2 separate regions of the Homo sapiens genome follow, and region 2 is linked to region 1. Evidence: promoter capture Hi-C in 16 types of primary human blood cells and fetal thymus (Javierre and others, 2016). All regions are on one chromosome and are shown on one strand. Each heading gives the region's core, a stretch centred on a gene start or on the middle of the fragment in contact. The rest is flanking DNA. Distances are from core to core; before and after follow the strand shown. Region 1 holds the start of CFAP298 (cilia and flagella associated protein 298). Region 2 overlaps URB1 (URB1 ribosome biogenesis factor).

Region 1 (3,811 bases), core at 905-3,404:
GGGAGGCTGAATCAGGCGGATCACCTGAGGTCGGGAGTTCAAGACCAGCCTGACCAATATGGAGAAACACTGTCTCTACTAAAAATACAAAAAAAAAAAAAAAAAAAAAAAATTGCCGGGCATGGTAGCGCATGCCTGTAATCCCAGCTACTTGGAAGGCTGAAACAGGAGAATCGCTTGAATACGGGAGGCAGAGGCTGCAGTGAGCCGAGATCATGCCATTACACTCCAGCCTGGGCAGCAAGAGTGAAACTCTGTTAAAAAAAAAAAAAAAAAAAAAAGAAAAGAAAAAAAGAGAAAATATTACTTCCATTATCGCAGGGGGTGCTCACCCCTGATGATATTGTTTTCTAATATCCAGGGAAGGAGAGTATGATATTACTCCCAATATCGCAGGGGGTGTACACTTTTTTGTGATATTGTGTCTAATATCCGGGGAAACAGAGGATGATATTACTCCCAATATCGCAGAGGGTGGACACCCCCCTGGGATATTGTTCCTAGTATCCCAACGGGGAGAGGATGATATTACTCCCCATATCGAAGGAAATGTACACCACCCCTGTGATATTGTTCCTGATATCCAGAGAGGAAAAGAATGATATTACTCCCAACAGCGAAGGAAATGTATACCCGCGCTGTGATATTTTTCCCAGTATCCGGGGGGGAGAGGATCATATTACTTCCAATATCGCAGGGTGTGTACACCCCCTCTGTTATCTTGTTGCTAACATCCAGGTTTGGGGAGGAAAACATTACTCCCAATATCACAGGGGGAGTACACCCCTCCGTGACCTTGTTAGTAATTTCCTGGGTGGAGAGGATGACATTACTCTCAATATCGCAGGGGTGTACACCCCACTGTGATATTTTTCTAAATATTCAGGGCGGGAGACGATAATATTACTCCCAATATCGCAGAAGGTGTACATTCCCTGACCATCAAACATAAGAAGTCCATCAACCTGTTTAGTTTTCTTTAGATCTGTATTTGAATTTGTGTTGTCCGTTTGTTTATTTATTATTTTTGAGACACAGTCTCACTCTGTCGCCAAGGCTGGAGGGTAGTGGCGCGATCTAGGCTCACTGCAACCTCCGCCTCCCGGGTTCAAGCAATTCTCCCACCTCAGGCTCCCTAGTAGCTGGAATTACTGGCACGCGCCACTACGTTCGGCTAATTTTTGTATTTTTAGTAGAGAAGGGGTTTCACCATGTTGGCCAGGCTGCTTTCGAACTCCTGACCTCAGGTGATCCGCCCTCCTCGGCCTCCCTAAGTGTTGGGATTACACGCGTGAGCCACCGCTCCTGGCCTGTCCATTTATTTTTGTTTTCTTTTTGTCACACTAAAATATAAGCTCCATGAGAGCAGTGACTCTGGATCTGTGGGGCCCGGAATAAACAGCGACTGACGCCGACTGCCTTCAGCAAGAGTCCGCTGGAGGATGGCTGGATATTTCTGGGAGGGTCGCTCTGGCAGGGGCCGCTGGAGCTACCCCAGCAACGCCATCCAAATCAACCTGAACGAAGAAGTGCGGACACTCGCCCTGGCCCCTCCGTCCTGAAAAGCTGACCCGCGCAAACAGCAGCGAACAGCAAGACTCAGTTCTGGGTCGCTGCCGCCGAACTTTCCCAGGCCGGAAACAGCGTGGAAACGTTGCCGGAAGTGGAGACTGAAAGCGGCGGAAGGGACGCTGGAATGTGGAGCGGTTGTGGGGCGGCAGCTGCGGAACTGCGCGATTGTGGTTCCCGCCGTATTTCCCGTTCCCCATCTAGTAACTCCCATCTCAGCCCACGTATCTCCCTGAGTGGAAATCTCGGGCCCCAGACCAGTCGATTGGGAGGTCCGCCCTCCCCTTCAGCGACTTGGTCTGTGTTTTGGCAGTTGCCGCGACAACAGTCACTTCCGGGAAGGGGCTCTGCGAATCTCCTTCCGTCGGTCCGCTCAGAATCAGCTGTCCTCTCAGACTGTGTGGGTGGTTTCCCCGGCCGCAGCTCCGTACGGGCTTGGATTGCTGGGCCTCGGTGCACCCCAGCCTCCCCCACTCGGGTTCTGAGCTTGAGCTGGCGGCTCTTTAACTCTGCTTCACTGTTGCTCTTGGCAACATCCACTTCCGGGAGCGAGTGCCGTTTCCCCCGCTCACCGCGGGCTAGGGAGCGTGGGATTCCGGACTGTGAGCGGCTGTTAGTGCGTCGCAGCTGCTGGCGATCCGGCGACCCTCGGCCGGCAGGACCCGCGGGCCACGCAGCCGGGGCCTTCTCAACGCCTCAGTACCTCGGCGGGACCGCCATGGTTCTGCTGCACGTGAAGCGGGGCGACGAGAGCCAGTTCCTGCTGCAGGCGCCTGGGAGTACCGAGCTGGAGGAGCTCACGGTGCAGGTGGCCCGGGTCTATAATGGGCGGCTCAAGGTGCAGCGCCTCTGCTCAGGTGCGGCTCGCGGGTGGGCCCATCCCGGACAGATCGAGAGACCGGCGTGGGATGGAGAAAGAGGGGCAGGGTGGGCCGAGGGGTCAGGTTTGTGAAGATTATTGAAGAGATTTGCAGCAGCCGGGGTTGAAACGGGACACTAGGGTTAACCGGAGATGAATAAGGAACCGGAGAAGATCCGGCCTGTCTGACACCCCGGGCTGGGAGGTGGGCCCAGGTGCCTCTCGGAGCCAGGATTTGGGGTGCTGCGAATAAGTGGAAATGGGCTGGGGAGGGAGGAGGGAGCCGAAAGGCCGGGCTGAACAGCAGACTTAGTGCAATTAATCACGTGTGAGGGGTGAGATGAGAACTAGGTGGGCTTTTAAAAGCTGAATTTACTATTTTTAGTCGCCCAATGTAAAGCAGCGAGCCACCTGGCTTTGGGACGGCCCCTTACAGTTGAGGAAGCCTTGGTGATCTTTCCCCGCCCTGGAAACGGCCTGTTGCGTTGCGGCGCCGTCTCCCTACCCCGCGCAGGTTCCAGGGCACCCGCTTTGCCGCAGAACTTTCCGGCGGTGGAAGGGCCCCCATCTGTGCTGTCCATTGGGCAGCTGCCGGCCACTTGTGGCCGTAGAGCATTTGGAATGTGGCTAGTGCGGCCAGGCAACCGAATTTTACATTTGCATTTTAATTAATTAAATATATATAAATATAAATAAATACCATATATATAGTATATATGAATATAAATAAATTATATATATGTATATATAAATATAAATAAATTATATATATATATATATATATGGTATGTGTGTGTGTGAGAGACAGGGTCTTACTGTTGCCCAGGCTGGAGTGCAGTGGCGCGATCTCTGCTCACTGCAACCTTCGCCTCCCGGGTTCAAGCTATTCTCCTGCCTCAGCCTCCCAAGTATCTGAGATTACAGGCGCCCACCACCACGCCCAGCTAATATTTGTATCTTTAGTGGACACGGGGTTTCATCATGTTGGCCAGGCTGGTCTCGAACGCCTGACCTCAGGTGATCCGCCTGCCTCCGCCTCCCAAAGTGCTAGGATTACAAGTGTGATCCATCGCGTCTGGGTCATTTTAATTTAAATAAATTTAAATCGCCAAGTGGAGCGAGTAGCTGCCGCATTAGACAGCATAGTTTTTGAACTTGACGGGATGATACTTCCTGATGTGGTCTAGGATATTACTGTTTATATAACTATCGTGTATATATAGAATATACAAACGTAACTATTTGCAATAAATAGTATATTCATTTATGTGATTTATTAAATTGCATGAATATGTGATTTATTATGAAATGTATTGATTACATTATATGAATATGTGAGTTTTGCACCGTGGAGAAATTCCTGAGGGTCATGGTTCTTTTCAT
Region 2 (3,811 bases), core at 876-3,375, 240 kb after region 1:
CTCATAGGATAGAATGGTATTTAGCCCCCCAAAATGTTCTAAAGGGATGTTTAATGACGTGGAAAAGGCTTATGCTTCATAAGTAATCATATATAAATAAAATCTCAGGCAAAAAATAATGAATACATACACATGTATATTGTGTGGGTGTGGGTGGTGACTGAAAGGAAATATATCAAAATAGTAACGATATCCTAGGATGGTTGGGAATATTGGTGAATTTCCCTTTATGTTTTTCCTTTTTTTAAACCAAATTTTCTGCCACTAGCAAGCATTATTTTTATAATGATGAGAAAACAGTAAGCACCATTTAAAAAATAATTGAATTCCATGAACTTTTTCATAATTTGTTTTTTAATAATTTGTTTTATTATTGTTTCAGGTAGTTCACAATAAAAATATCACAAAAACCCAGAAGGTGCGTTTCTTTACGGGGCAGTTATTGAACCACATAGCATCGCTGTACAACTGGAATGGGATTACCGATGTGAACCCAGAAAATGTCAAGGTGCAGACACTTTTTGGTTTTCGTTGACCTCGTTGTTGGAATTTGATCCTCAGGGTTGGGAGAGGGAGAATTCTCAACACCGCACCAGACTTGAAGTCCCCTCATTTGATCTGTTTCTTTTGACTGTGGTTATATGGTTGTATTAACCCTCTGCTAACTGCAATAGGATTTTTTTCCCCTAATTTCTTAATCATGCTAATAATTTTTTTTTTTAATTAGAAAACTATGATTTCCTTGGGCTGAGCCATATCTTAGTTTTCCCTGCAGCACTTGCCTGTTAGACCTGCAGGGTCATCCCGGCCATCTTTTCCTCTTGCTTTACCTCTGCCTTCCCATCCTTCCATTCTTTCATGTCCAGTTGTTGGAGTTTCAAGGCTTGTTGTGTGTTTTTTGTTTGTTTGTTTGTTTTTAACCTCAGGATCCTGAATGTCTAGGAGCCTCACCTACTGACATATATAATTTATTTTGTGCTAGTTAACTCGTGCTAAATTGAAACAGCTGCTCTTAACATCGACCCAATGCCAGTGTATATTTTAATTTTCTTCAGGGTGTTACTGAACATGGACTTGGCCAGAGTAGTAAAGGCACAGACTTCCTGTTAACGTTATAATAATTCACCTCTCAAGAGCCTAATATTTCACCTCCTTTTATCTTGGAGACTTGCCCAGGTCCTCTTGTTTTGAACATGTTTTTGTATGCTCTAGACCAGCAAGCCTCAGAGGCTGCATAAAAACACTCCCAAATATGGAATTTTATTCAAATGAACAAGAGAAATTAGATCACTTTAAAGCTTTTAAAAATACAGGTTTAAACTTGCCCCTCTTCAGAGTATTCTTTTATCTTGATCGGTGTATCTTTTTGTTGTTGTTTTCATTTATTGTTTGGAATGACACCAAGTATTTAAAATGTTTTCTAAATTGTCATCGGCAGTTAATATTGTCCTTGTTTTTACTCTAGCTCTTACTAAAGTGTATGAGCTTGGGATTTTCATTGAATTTTTAAAAAATCTTCATAGGTTTCTGCCGAAGAAGCAGGGAAAACCATGGTGCGGGAGCTTGTTCATAACTTCCTGATGGATCTTTGCTGTTCACTCAAGCATGGAATTAATTTTTACGATGCATCTTTGGGTACCTTTGGCAGGTAAAGTATAACACTCTTGTGGACCCCAGGGTGTGTATGTTCCTCAGAAGTCACCACATATGTGAGTGTCTAGTGGAACTGTAGTAGGTTAGAACTAGAATTGTGGACATTATCTAACTCGTTTCAGGGTTGAACAGTTGTAGTCCCAGAGAACTTCTCCTTGTTGCATGTCCTCAGGGGCAGTTCTGAGGGTAGCTGTCTATTAGCACTTAGTTAGGTCATGGGATATTTCACCCAGGGAGGTGCTGCGGATGTTTACCTAAAGACAGTGTTCGTCAGCTGGAGCTCAGAAAAGGCGTCTGCCTTGCCAGAGAGGGTTGGCCCTGACATGGGCCTCACAGCAGTCCTGACGCAGGTACCATTGTTATGCCAGCTTTGCAGAGGAAGAAAGTAGTTCTAGAGAGGTCGAGACACTTACACTGGTTAAATGGCAGAGGTTGCACTGGAATCCAGGAAGTCCAGCTCCAAACTGATACTAAAACAGTCCTCCCTCTCCTTGACAGGCTGCCCATGAGTCACGGTTTCAAAATTGTTTTTTTTTTTAACATTTTGTTTCACATTTCACAATTGTGGTAACATTTCATCAGTAAGGAAACATATTAAGTTCAAATCTACTGGTTTTGATCATATTCTTTAAGACTTTCTTTTTGTAATCGTATAATACAGGTCTATGTGATTTTTTTTTTTAATAACAAAAATGGCTTACTACTGTTCATCCTATCTGCTTTTTTCCCACTTGACAATAAAAATATTGGCCATGTTTTCTTGTCATTGTAAATGTGTAAATGATTTATTGTTTAATCCTTGTTATTCTATCCTAGCATTATATCACAAGGATTTAGGCAGTTTGATTTACTTCTAATTTCAGCCAGTCAGGAAATCAGGTGATTCCTTCAGAATGGAATAACATGGTGGGAGTTTTTCTGTCTGCTTATGACTTTGGACGTGTTTTGATTCTGAGGTCACTGTGATTTAACTTGTCACATCATTTCTTTTTTCTTTCATCAGTAAGAATGAGCTCATTTTCCTGCCAAAACATAACAGCAGACTTTTATAGTCGAATAGAATATTACACCATGCTTAAAACACATGCATTGTTCCCCCTTTTTAAAGCATTTTTCCTCCATAACTAGGCCCATGAAATAGATGAGCATTTAATGAGCATATTGAATCAACTTGTGGGTGTGCGTCTCTTTGCAGCAAGCTGTGATTTATGTGAATTTTGAAGCCATGGGCAAAAGACAAGTGTTTGTGCATAAGGGAAAGGAAGGAGATTTGTTTGTGGATGGTGATAGAAAGCTTTGAGAACACTGAATTGCATCGTTCCCTGTTCCCCAGTAGACACGTGGCCCACTCATTCATTTCATTCAGGTTCCTGTGCAGACCTCACCACTTCAGGGAGGCCTTCCCGGACAGCCCTTTCTGAAATAGTCCCTCCACTGTCACTGTGCTTTTTGCCTGGCTTAGGCTTCTGACTGTTCATACATTTATTTGCTGATTTATTTATTTGCTTGTTCATTATCAGATTGGTGAGAAGTGGTGAGAACGGGCGCTGGTCTATTATGGGCCTCCAGTCCCTAGGACAGTGCCTGGCACATAGTAGGTGTTCACTGAAAGCTGGTGTTAGAGCATAGAGCAAGGATTGGCAAACTTTTCTACAAAGGGCCAGATTGTATTTTGGGCTTGGCAGCCTACACAGTCTGTTGTGACCACTCAGTTGTGCCAGCAAAGCATCCATAGATGTAAATAAGTAGGTTTACCTGTGTCCCAATCAAATTACAATGATAGGTGCTGGGCCCTACTTTGCCAGTCGCTGGTGTAGGTTAACAGAGCAGACAGCTGGGCTTCAATCCCAACTTAGCTCTGAGACCTTCACTGGGTTAGGCATCCTCTCTGCCTCCATTATCTTGTCTATAAAGTGGGAATAAAAGTAGTGCCTGTCGCAGAGACGTGGTGGTAACTGCTTAGAGCAGTGTCTGGCATGTGTTGTGCACTACATAAATATTAATGCTCTCCATTTTATTACGTTGTTGATTAAAATAAAGCATGTGTAGTATTTTTAGCACTCTTTGTAGATTTAATATCCTTTTCATTTGACAGTACAAACTATTTTGTTCATGACATTTTCATATTAGGAAAGGATATTTTCATGTCCTTTTTTAA

What was found. Contacts are between HindIII fragments. The CHiCAGO score rates a contact against its expected background, and 5 or more counts as called.
Region 2: a contact is called between a fragment that was not itself captured here and the fragment with the promoter of CFAP298 in region 1, in 6 of 17 cell types (M2 macrophages, M1 macrophages, M0 macrophages and 3 more). The highest score is 7.4, in M2 macrophages.

The regions. Positions count from the first base shown.
Region 1 is chr21:32,610,720-32,614,530 of GRCh38, reverse strand. CFAP298 (cilia and flagella associated protein 298) reads left to right here and starts at 2,154. Exons shown (of 7, transcript NM_021254.4): 1 at 2,154-2,426. The coding sequence starts at 2,288. It overlaps CFAP298-TCP10L (CFAP298-TCP10L readthrough), which reads left to right and starts at 2,154. Exons shown (of 12, transcript NR_146639.2): 1 at 2,154-2,426. RefSeq lists enhancers at 1,913-2,022, 2,683-2,732. The HindIII fragment of the contact is 6,059 bases long and covers 1-3,811 here.
Region 2 is chr21:32,370,344-32,374,154 of GRCh38, reverse strand. It overlaps URB1 (URB1 ribosome biogenesis factor), which reads left to right. Exons shown (of 39, transcript NM_014825.3): 7 at 383-508; 8 at 1,524-1,648. Among named protein-coding and RNA genes, the nearest start is that of SNORA80A, 5.1 kb to the left of the region's middle. The HindIII fragment of the contact is 1,649 bases long and covers 1,301-2,949 here.